Linked DNA regions of Homo sapiens: regions 1 and 2 are each linked to region 3. Evidence: promoter capture Hi-C in 16 types of primary human blood cells and fetal thymus (Javierre and others, 2016). All regions are on one chromosome and are shown on one strand. The core of a region is centred on a gene start or on the middle of the fragment in contact, and the rest is flanking DNA. Distances in the headings are between cores, read along the strand shown.

The links. Contacts are between HindIII fragments. The CHiCAGO score rates a contact against its expected background, and 5 or more counts as called.
Region 1: a contact is called between a fragment that was not itself captured here and the fragment with the promoter of TEX22 in region 3, in 1 of 17 cell types (endothelial precursors). The highest score is 5.2, in endothelial precursors.
Region 2: a fragment that was not itself captured here is called in contact with the fragment with the promoter of TEX22 in region 3 in 1 of 17 cell types (monocytes); the score reaches 5.4 in monocytes.

The regions. Positions count from the first base shown.
Region 1 is chr14:105,124,926-105,128,596 of GRCh38, forward strand. No RefSeq gene overlaps it. Among named protein-coding and RNA genes, the nearest start is that of MIR6765, 24 kb to the right of the region's middle. The HindIII fragment of the contact is 3,947 bases long and covers 407-3,671 here.
Region 2 is chr14:105,012,093-105,015,860 of GRCh38, forward strand. All of the region lies in intron 1 of CDCA4 (cell division cycle associated 4), which reads right to left. Among named protein-coding and RNA genes, the nearest start is that of CDCA4, 7.1 kb to the right of the region's middle. The HindIII fragment of the contact is 5,093 bases long and covers 1-3,768 here.
Region 3 is chr14:105,396,330-105,400,078 of GRCh38, forward strand. TEX22 (testis expressed 22) reads left to right here and starts at 2,209. Exons shown (of 4, transcript NM_001195082.2): 1 at 2,209-2,306; 2 at 2,973-3,161. The coding sequence starts at 3,012. It overlaps PACS2 (phosphofurin acidic cluster sorting protein 2), which reads left to right. Exons shown (of 25, transcript NM_001100913.3): 25 at 1-1,818. RefSeq lists a silencer at 1,722-2,631 and enhancers at 2,299-2,809, 2,810-3,320. The HindIII fragment of the contact is 23,339 bases long and covers 1-3,749 here.

The sequences.
Region 1 (3,671 bases), core at 1,130-3,629, 270 kb before region 3:
TGTAGGAACCTGAGCTAGACATCCCACCTGCTGCACAGCCACGACCAGGGATGGGCTTTGGGTGGCCTCCACCCTGCAAATCCTCCATCATCTGAGCCTGAGCTCCTCTGCTACGACGTCACTTTGAGACAGCTGCTGCTGCTGCCAAGGTCAAAAGCAGAGTGGTCCTTCCTAGCCCCTGCATTCTAACCCCACATAAGTGCCTCCAAGTACAGAACCCCATGGAAATCCATCTGGCAGTGGGTCTGGGGAATGTAGTTTTCAGACTTCTAGCCCCAGTGGTATGGAGGAGAGTGAGAAGAGCTGGTAAGGGCTGAGTAGCCAGAAACAACACCTGCTATAAATCCTACAGCCACACAGGCAGAAAAATCAAGTTACCACAAGGAGTGAAACAACACTGACCACAAGCTTCTCCACAGCAATATGCAAGGCTGAAGGACAGCAGTGATTGAAGCATTTTATACCTGTCTTTTCAAACATGTCAGAATCCAGGTATTAGGGCACCTATGAGTTCTTATTTCTCACACACACAGTTGGAAACTGGGCACGGTGGTGCACACCTGTGGTCCCAACTACTCAGGAGGCCGAGGCAGGAGGATCACTTGAGCCCAGGAGTTCGTGGCTGCAGTGAGCCATGATCATGCCACTGCACTCCAGCCTGGGTGACAGAGAAAGACCCCATCTCTAAAACAAACAAACAAACAAACAAACAAACCCACTTGGTATTGAAATGTAACAGCAAAATTGAAGTGAAGCCCGTGTAGGAAATCCTGGATTGCCCAACAAACAGTATCCTACACACACCCTTAGGCACAAGCAAAACAGGGACAAGAAAAGGGATTTTTTTTTTTTGAGACAAAGTTTTGCTCTTGTTGCCCAGGCTGGAGCACAATGGCACAATCTCAGCCCACTGCAACCTCCGCCTCATGGGTTCAAGCGATTCTCCTGCCTCAGCCTTGCGAGTAGCTGGGATTACAGGCAACCCCCACCATGCCCAGCTAATTTTTGTATTTTTAGTAGAGACAGGGTTTCACTATGTTGACCAGGCTGGTCTTGAACTTCTGACCTCAGGTGATCCACCTGCCTTGGCCTCCCAAAGTGCTGGGATTACAGGTGTGAGCCGCCATGCCCAGCCGAAAAGGGAACTTTTATGAAAAGTAATTTGACGTTGATATTCATCCATTCGTGCATGCAGTATCTGCTGGGTGTCTGCAACATACCAGGTCACACCTGGGGACAGGACAGGGGAAATCCAGTCTGTCTCTGCCCTACTGGACCTTGGGTTCTGGGGGCAGACAGACAATAAACAGCTCCAGCAATGAGAGGCACCGTGGGGCTGTGAATCACAGAGACACTCCCGCGACCAGGGAGGGGTGCTGGGCAACAGGCAGAGGCTTTCAGACGCGAGGGAGCAGGCAAGTGCACTCACCTGGAGGCCGCCCAAGGAGCCAGCAGGAGCCAGGGCAGGGTGGAGGTCGGGGAGCTGGACCGTGGGGTGACCTTTGAGGACTTGGGCTTTTTCTCTGAATAAGGTGGAAAGCCACTGGAAGGTTCTGCTATTTCCAGAGGAGAGGAAGAAGGATGAGGAAGGTGAGGTCTCCCTGCCCCTCTAGCTGCTCAGGTTAGGATGCACTTGGTCAGGAAAGGCCGCTGTAAGGAGGGCCCCTCTGTTTCCCATGCTTGGGCCCTGAGGGGCTGCTCGGCCAGGGAACCGCGTGCGGAGAAAATTGACACTGAGCATCAGCTGCACTTCAATAATTTGGTTGAACTGCACGGAATTGCTGACAGGTGGCTGTTTTGACGAAAAAGAGGCAATTTCATACCATTCAATCAAGCAGGATGAAAGGCCGCCCAGCTGCGGAGGTTAGGTGGGTGAGCAGAATGCGATGGACTGGGCCCTGGCCAGCAAGGACTGACAGGAGGGCGAGAACCAGGTGGGGGAAGTCGCCTCCTCGTCCCTCACTATGGAGTTGCTTGACTCTGTCCAAAGTCCATTAGTTCAATGCCTGCAGCCATTTGTATTTAGACAACGGCACAAAAAGTGTCCTTTAACATGACACTCCATGCTATAGGACAGGAACTCACACAGAACCCTCTTTCCATTTGTTGACACTCAGATAAATCGCCCACAGGATGCCTGGAAAAGCCGTGAGGATGACGCTCGTAGTGCAGAGCCAGGTGCAGGACCGGGAGCTGTTTCACAGACAGCCCCATGGCTCTGCCCCAAATCCCACAGCCTGCCTAGCGGGATGGGGAAGACAGGAATGCCCGTACTGTAGTAGAAGTCAGCAGCTCTTTTTGGAAGTAGTTTGGCAGCGCTTATTCAAAATGCTTCATTGTCCTGCAACCCGGCAATTTCATGTCTAGGAAACAGCAGGTTGGCTTGGATGACTCAGGCAACACCTCCATCATTAGCAGAGCTCGTGTCAGTTTTCTAAAAGACAGAAGCCAGAACAAGTAAGGGAATTTAGCAAGGTTGTGGGATATAAGAGCATTAAACAAAAATCAACCGCTTTTTTTTTTTTTTTTTTTTTTTTCGGAGACAGATTTTTGCTCTTGTCGCCCAGGCTGGAGTGCAATGGAACGATCTCAGCTCACTGCAACCTCCGCCTCCCAGGTTCAAGAGATTCTCCTGCCTCAGCCTCCCAAGTAGCTGGGATTACAGGTGCCCACCATCATGCCCGGATAATTTTTGTATTTTTAGTAGAGACAGGGTTTCACCATGCTGGCCAGGCTCGTCTCGAACTCCTGACCTCAGGTAATCCGCCTGCCTCAGCCTCCCAAAGTGCTGGGATTATAGGTGTGAGCCACCACGCCCAGATAAATCAATTGTATTTTTATTTACTTGCAAGAAACAATTGGAAATTGAGAAATTTTAAAACACCACCCACAAAGGCATCACCTAGTATGAAATACTAAGGATAAATTTGACAAAAGAGACGTCAGGTGTATAAACTGAAAACTACGAAGCATGAACTGCACACCTAAAGATGGTTAGGATGGTACATCTTATAGTATGTGATTTTACCACAATAAAAAATTAAATAGAATAAAAGGACAGAAAACAAAACAAAAATCCCAAAATATTAACTGTGGTTGTTTCTGAGTAGTGGGATGATGGATTTTTCCCCCTTAGTTTCTGTATTTTGTCCTTTTCAAATCCTCTCTAATGCACAAGTGTTACTTTTGCAAAACAAAGTAGCAAATGTAAGAAGCCACGTGTGCTCCTTTCTGCTTGCAGTATAATTTCACAAAGCCCTGACTCTTCCACAATGTGTAGCTCTCCAGAAAGATGCTTTGAAGACAAAGCAGGACAGAGCGCACGGCCCCCACATCTCTTGCCTGAGTCACTACATTCCTTCAAAGATAACATGACCCCTGCCAGGAGCGGTGCCTCACACCTGTAATCCCAGTGCTTTGGGATGCCAACGTGGGATGATCATTTGAGGCCAAGGGTTTGAGACCAGCCTGGGCAACATGGCAAGACCCTGTCTCTATTTTAAAATTTTTATTTTTATTTTTGAGAGAGTCTAGCTCTGTCACCCAGGCTGGAGTGCAGTGGCAGGATCTTGGCTCACTGCAACCTCTGCAGTTCAAGTGATCTTGGGTTCAAGTGATTCTCCTGCCTCAGTCTCCTGAGTAGCTGGGATTACAGGCATGCCCCATCACAC
Region 2 (3,768 bases), core at 662-3,161, 380 kb before region 3:
CGTGGAGCCCAGTGGGAGACCCCCACCCCCAGATCAGCTGCCATCCTGCCTAAGCCAGGCACAGTCACGTTGTTAGAAACGACAAACCTCTCAACTGTACCACGACAGTGTTTTATAGCAAAAAAGATAAATGAACTAAAAATAGGAGAAATATATAAGAGAAATGTAAGTGTTCGAGAGCTTGGCTGAAAATCTGTTTCAAAAATCTAACTGTGGTGTGTACAAAAGAAGAGACCCTGGGGTAACATGAGATTAATGTGAACCGTGCCAGCCTGCAGAGGGCGCAGGGCGGGGGCCGGACAGGGCCGGGCACACACACGTACCATTCTGACTTCCCTCAGGATCCTGCCTCGGACAAAGTCACTTCTGCGTTCAGAAGAGTTAGTGCCTTCCCCCTCAATGCTTTCACTAAAAGCCTCTATATGTCGCAGACAGCCGGGCTGGAAAGCTGTGCCACCAGGAACGCGCAGGGGAAGGACTGCAGGGCTGTATGCTCATCCCATGCAGCGAGTGGTCTGTGTTTCGTGCACAATTCTCCAAGGGACACAGGGTCTCCTGGCCGAGCCTATGTGGCCCTGGACAGTCCCTTGCTCCCACACCCGCCCATGCTGCCTGCCTTAGGGATCACACCCATTCCTTGGCTCCCCCCACCCGCCCCACCAGTTCATTTCTCCCAAGGTGCACAGGCTCTGCCTGGCTGCTTTCTACTTGACATCTCTCAGGTCAATGCCCTCCACTCGAGAGCTCTGACCAGCCCGTACAACCATGGCCTCAGGGGCCACCTCCCCTCTCATCTCAACTCCTTTCTCTTCAAAGGAACCAAAACATGGCAGGGTATGTGTGTGTCCGGGGCAGGGGGGGTGGGTTCCTCACCAGTGTGTTGTGGCAGCCCAGAGCTGGCCAAGGCAGTGTTTCTCGGCGTATGCCTCAGCACTGGCGCTGTTGGTTGAAGATGCAGATTCCTGGATCTTACCCCAGACCTGGGCAACTCCGGGATGGCACCTAAGGCTCAGCCTTGCTGGGCAGGTTCCACTAAGACGCACAGCACAGATGCACTAGATGGACATTGGCCATGTCTACTCTCAGAAGTACAAGTCTGTGCAAACTGTTTTTTTTTTTTTTTAACTGATTCTAAATTGGGACATCTCTGGGGCACTAAAGGCAGAGCAGACAGGAGGGTGGGCTCTGGCTTTTGACAGATGCCATTCTGAGCCAGTGCCGCCTGCGGGGAGCTGGGAGGATGACAGCTGGCTCAGGGCCATACTGGCCGGCAGAGTCTGACAGGACAAGCATCTCACGCATGATTAAGTTTCTCTCTTCTCATGCTTGTAATGTAGTGAAATATTATTTCAAATAATTCAAGTTATGCATAAATAGGGTTACAATCTTTTGAATATGCAAACTTTGGAACTTCTTTTTCTCTTAGTCAATCTGATGGCTCCCTGTGACCAGGGTATACCCAGGTGCTCTTGGAAAGCTGGCGTATGGGAGGCACATGCTGTCTCTGCTCGGGGTCTGGAGACCAAGGATGGGAAGTTTTGCAGTGCGGGAGAACTGGCTGCCAAACATACCCCTTCCCAGGAGCCCCTCTGGAGGCTCCCACCTGCTGGTCCTACCCTTGAATTAACAGAAGAAAGGGTCCCCCTGTTCTCTGAATTTCCCTTCAGTGTCACAGATCTCATCCCCGTGCCTTTAACACATGTAAATTTTAAAAAACTAAGTGACCTCTTGGGCATTTATCCCAGAGAAAAAGCCAATGTTCATGCAAAAAACATGTTCCAGAATGTGCACAGCAGCTTTATTTGTAGTAGCTCCAAATCTGAAACAAGGAAAATGTACCCTTCACCTGGGCACGGTGACACACACTCTGCTCCATTCATGCCACCAAATCCTACTCTGCAATAGAAAGAAATGAACTGTTGATACACAGGACGGATCCTTCCACAGGGGCATTAGGCTGAGGGAGAAAAGCCAACCTCAGAAGGGTGCTTGCTATGGGATCCCATTTATGCCACATTGTCATGCTGACCCAGAGCTGAGGGGTGGCAGGGCTAGAAAGGAACCTGCGCAGGGAGATCTTGGGGGTGAGGGCCCTTCTGCTCCTGGGCTGTGGGGGTGGCCCTACCCTGACTGCACAGCGCCGGACACGCACACATGCGCCTGCGGCAGCCGTGTCATCACACGGACCTGGGGCCTGGCTGTGCATCCTACAAGGATGCCGGCCCTGGGGAGCAGAGGAAGGGCACATAGGACCTCCTGAACACTGCTCTGCAACCTCCCCTGGCTCTACAATTATTTCAAAATTAAAATTAAAGGAAAACTTCCCTAACCCTAGCTTATTTCCCCTACAGCACCCATTTCCCCAGAGCAGCATGCCAGTGTCACCACAGGCACAGCCCTCAGGCTGGGCACCGCCTCTCACACCTGCATACACCAGCTTCTCAACTAATTCTAAATGAAGGACAGTTTACCACCAAAACACATTTACACATTTCTATTACTTTTGGTAAATATTCGAGTTCTTTGTGTCAGCCACAAATTTAACTTTTCAGAGCTTTTCCATCCCAATCCATTGTTTAAATCACTGGCTTAAAATTGCTAAGTATATCGAGAATTAACATAAGGCTATGTCAAACTACAAAGGACACCCTGCGTTGGGGAAAAGATTAAGTCCCACGGGTTCCTCTGTGGGAAGTCAATATACCTTTTAGGTTTTTAGTTTCTCTTTCAACCTATCTCAATCCCAAGCCTGCATAGCAATGGATTAATTTAGGACCCAAACCAAATCCTCTTGAACAGCATGCATTAAGCCCAAGTTTATAGACAGAAGAACCCCTGGCTGCCTCCCCTGACTCTGGAAACCCAGCAGCACAACCCCCATAATGTGGGGCCTACAGGAGGTCAGCACGACTGAGCAGGGCAATCAGGGCAACTCACAGAAGGAACAAGAATACCAATGGGACAGGCCAAGAAGACCCACAACCACACTGGGAACCAGTTCAAGAAGCTGTCCCAAGCTCCTAGGACCCTCTGGGTCCCACTTTCCTTTCCTCTGAGTCCTTAGAAATGCCAGGTCCTGAGTCCAAACCCAACGACAGACCCTCCCGCCCTTTTCTGAAAGCCAGATATGGATACTAGAAGCCTCCCACTGGGGATCTTAAGAGGATGAATTCAGTGCTTGGCCTGGTGCTGTCAGCGGTCCTAAGGGCAGCACTAGCAATACGTGACCGTCAGAAATCACCCTAATAACATCTGCTCTGAGCGAGGGAATATACCAACAAACAATGGCGGAACCACATACAGAAACAGAACTCTCAGCCATTATCTGCCGCCATCAGTCGGAAACCAGCCCTTTACCTTCAGTAACGGGCCAGGAAGCCAGGTTGCCCTAGTCAGACCTGCAGGAAGCCTGGCTGCTTTCTCTAGGAACAATCCAGGAAGCTAAACAATCATTTCCATAGCAAGCAGCCCAAAATGGCCAGGACATGATTAGTAACCGACAACCTCTCCAGTTTTTGTCCCTGCTTCCAATTTAGGACCAACCAGAGAAAGCCAAACATGTTCTAGGCCATCTCACAGGAGCCCCACTTCTTTGTTGTTGTTGTTGTGTCGCCCAGGCTGGAGTGCAGTGGCGCAATCTCAGCTCACCGCAACCTCCGCCTCCCAGGTTCAAGGGATTCTCCTGCCTCAGCCTCCCGAGTAGCTGGGATTACAAGGGTGTACCACCAGGCCTGGCTAATTTTTATATTTTCAGTAGAGACTTACCAT
Region 3 (3,749 bases), core at 959-3,458:
ATTGAATCCTGGCTTCAGGCTCTGCCCCGAGAAGTGTCTGCGGTGAGGGTGTGAGCCCCGGGCTGATGGCCTCTGACCCCGGCAACAGGTGGGACCCTGACTGACTCGTTCAGCTGCCCCCAAGCTGGGCTGCAGAGCATCTGTTTTTCTGCTCTCCAGTTTCTTTTCTTTTTTTTTTTTTTTTTTTTTGAGATGGAGTCTTGCTCTGTTGCCCAGGCTGGAGTGCAGTGGCATGATCTCAGCTCACTGCAGCCTCCGTCTCCCAGGTTCAAGCAGTTCTCCTGCCTCAGCCTCCCGAGTAGCTGGGATTACAGGCGTGTGCCACCACACCTGGCTATTTTTTTTGTATTTTTAGTAGAGATGGGGTTTTGCCATGTTGGCCAGGCTGGTCTTGAACTCCTGACCTCAAGTGATCCACCCGCCTCGGCCTCCCAAAGTGCTGGGATTACAGGCGTGAGTCACCGCGTCCTGCCTGCTCTTCCTGTTTCTTTCCCAAGGGTCACACTCAGTAGGGAGATGAAGGTGGAAACATCCTTGCTGTGGCTTTCTGGCCTCAGAGCAGGTTTTAGAGGAAGGGGCCACAGGCTGCCTAGTGCATCCTGGCTGTGGGCAGCCCCTTTCCTGGAGCCCTCCTGCCTACCCCGTACCTCCCATCTGGCTGCACAGCTCCATCCTTAGCCACGCAAGGGGAGAACATGGGCAGAGTCTCCATCCAGCAGCTGGGGGTTCTGGTGGCACTCCCTGTGCCCCTGCTGCTGCTGGGCTGTGGGTCTGCCCTGCACCCAGGAGCCCCACGGTCCATCCCCCACACCATGCCCAGCACCAGGGAGGTTGGGCAGACAAGACCTGGGCCATGCCAGCCCTCTGTGCCTCGGTTTTCCCACTGGTTACACAGGATGGTCGCATTTTCCCTGCCTACCTCACAGAGCTGTTCTGAGGGTGCATGGAGGAGCACTCTGTCCCACCAAGGACAACTAGAAACCAAAGCCATCTGACAGCCAGTGCGGTAAGGGCGGGGGATGTGTGTGTGAGGTGTGCACACCCCCCGAGAACCTGGCCCTGGACTGGCCTCACAGGACAGGAGGCAGCCCCTTGTAGAGCTAGGGCTCAGCCCCATCAGTCTCAAAGGTTAAGCCACCAGTCACCACCGAGGCACCCCTCAGGCCTGGTGGCCACTGTCCACTATTACGTAGACAGACCCCACCCTCACCCAGGCCAGCTGTGGGCCAGTCCCGCCCTGCAATCTGGTCTGCTGCCTTCCTCTTCCATGTTGGTCCCCTTGGCCACTGTCTCTGGGCATGCAAGCCAGTGTCCTGGTTCAGTGCCTCGGCCAGAGCTGGGGCAGGAGAGGGGCCTCTGGGTGAGAGCTGGGGGTGTCTCTGCAGGGTACTGGCAGCCTTGCCACACTGTCCTCATTCCCAGATGGAAAGACCTGAGTGCCTCTCGCCTTCCTCCGGGAATGAATTCCTCATGAAAATGACCAGGCCACTTCTTCCGAGGGCCAGGCCGCCCCCTCCCCGAGACCTGTCCTGCCGTCCGCGGGTGTGTGGCCTGTAGGGGACTGAGAGCTGGGCTTGCTGGGCACCTCTGGAATCTGACCCTGTGGGCCAAAGAAGCACCACTGTAGTTTCTGCAGACCCCCATGCGGTTCATTGTGCATTGTTTGGTTTCTAGGATGTATGTGTTGCTAGTTTTTTTTAATGAAACCCTGGATTAATGTAAATAGCTTTTTGGGGAACGGATTCTAATGTCACGTATGTGACCGTGTGGACTATTTCAAGGTGCTGATGCAACACTAATAAACCTGGAGGGGCCGGCCCCCGCCTGCAGTGTGATTCTCTCGGCCGTCCACCCCTTGGGAGCACGCGGCGGAGCAGCGCCTCCCTCCCGCCCGCGCGCCCCGTCCTGGGTCGCCCCGCCCCAGCCCTGCGGCCCCGCGCGCGCGGAGGTGGCCCGGGGCTCAGCGGCATCGCGCCGCTTGAAGGGCGCAGGGCCGAAAGGGGCTCTGGCCGACAAACCCCAAGTTCAGGTCTGTGCTTCGGGAGACCCCGGAGGCCGACGCCCGGAAGGGCCCGTGGGGCGGTAGCGGCCATAGACCCGGATATGCGCCGGGGACCCCCAGACCGCGCCCATCCCCCACCCGCCGCAACGGAGCCCAGAACGCAGGCGCGGCGCAGACCGGAAGCGGAACCGGTGGGGGCGGGGCTTGCCGTAGCGGACGTTCTGGAGCGAGGCGCCGGCCCCTTGGGCCCCCTCAAGCCGCGGTGTACTCCAGCGGCCCCCTGTGGCCTCTCCATCCGCGGCGGGTCTGTCCCTCCTTCTGTCTCCGGGTGCCCACGTACCCCCCACCTCCGACCGCCGTTCCCGTGTACCCCGCCCCCCCGCCGAACCCCAGAGTGCCCACGGCCTCCAGCGTGTGTCCTGAGCCTTCTTCCCCCGTCCCTCCGCGGACCCCGGCCGCGCAGACCCCGCCTCCCCACCGGAGAGGGCGGGCACGTAAGGGCTCCGGGCTGGGCCTGGGGCGAGGCCTGGGCCGCGTGGAGGGGAGGTCTCAGGGTCGGAAGCGGGGCTGTGGCAAGAGCTCTGGGCCTTTCCTTCGCCCCGGGCGTAGCAAGGCCGGGCCCTGAGAGCGTGCCCGCAGTGCTGGCTGAGGGCTGATGCCCCTGGAACGTTTGAGAAGGCTGGCAGAGGCGTGGAGTCCGTGCAGCAGGCTGCCGAAGGCTTTCCAGGCTCCCGGGGTGGGGTCGGCAGGGGCAGAGAGGACAGTTCGGGAGGCTGGTGTGGAGAAGAGCTGCGGCGGGAGCTGGGGGATCCACTCCACCCAGAGGGGTCAGTGATGCCTGACCTTTGGCTGGAAGGTGACCCTAGCAGACCGCGATACTGCCACCATCTGCCCCCAGGGACTCAGGTATTGGTGGGCACGTGGGTGGCCTTGTGGGCCCCGCCCCACCTCCCCCTGCTCCTACCCCCAGATCTCAGAGGTGTGGACAAGCAGCCTACTAGGGCTAGAGATGGACAGCAGGAAACTGTCCCCCCGGGGGAAGAAGCTGGAGTCGCACCTCTCCCAAGAGCACAGGCGGCCCCCACTGGGCCTGATAGCAGCCTGGGGCCAGCCCAGTATCCAGAGCAGCGTTCAGCAGGGACTGCAGACTCAGGACTGGGTAAGCGGAAGGAAACCCTGGCCGAGGCTACTCTCCTGTCCCCAGCCCGCCTGAGGCCGCTGTCTCTGAAAACTCCAGGCTGGTCGTGATGAGCAGCCTCAGGGGAGGGCTGAGTGGGGACTGATGAGAAACAGATGGCTGGACTCAGGAGGCTCTCTTCCCCATGGCCCTGGACGAGCACCAAGGTGGACCTGCACCCTTCTTGCTTCCAGAACCGTGGGCCGCTGGGCTCTGTAGAGAGGTCTTCCAAGGCCAGGAAGGAGGCAAGGCAACACACTTCCCTTAGCTCTCCCCAGTGCCTCCCACCCCAGGCTGAAGGTGGCAAGAAGCGGGAGGGAAAGCAAGGTCCCCAGGGGGGGTGGTGTCCTCCCAACCAGGTGGGGCAGCTGTCAGGAGAAGGATTTGTCACTGAAAGTTGACCAAAACAAAATAGTGGGAGAGGCTCTGCTGTGATTCCCCAAACTGGAAGCATCTCCTGGTCTCTCTACTGCTGGACAGTGAGCTACAGGCTTGTGTCAGGCCCAGTAGTGAGAATGGTGGGATATAGCTGTTCAGCCTTAGGACGTTCTCTGAGGGCAGAGGAAGCCA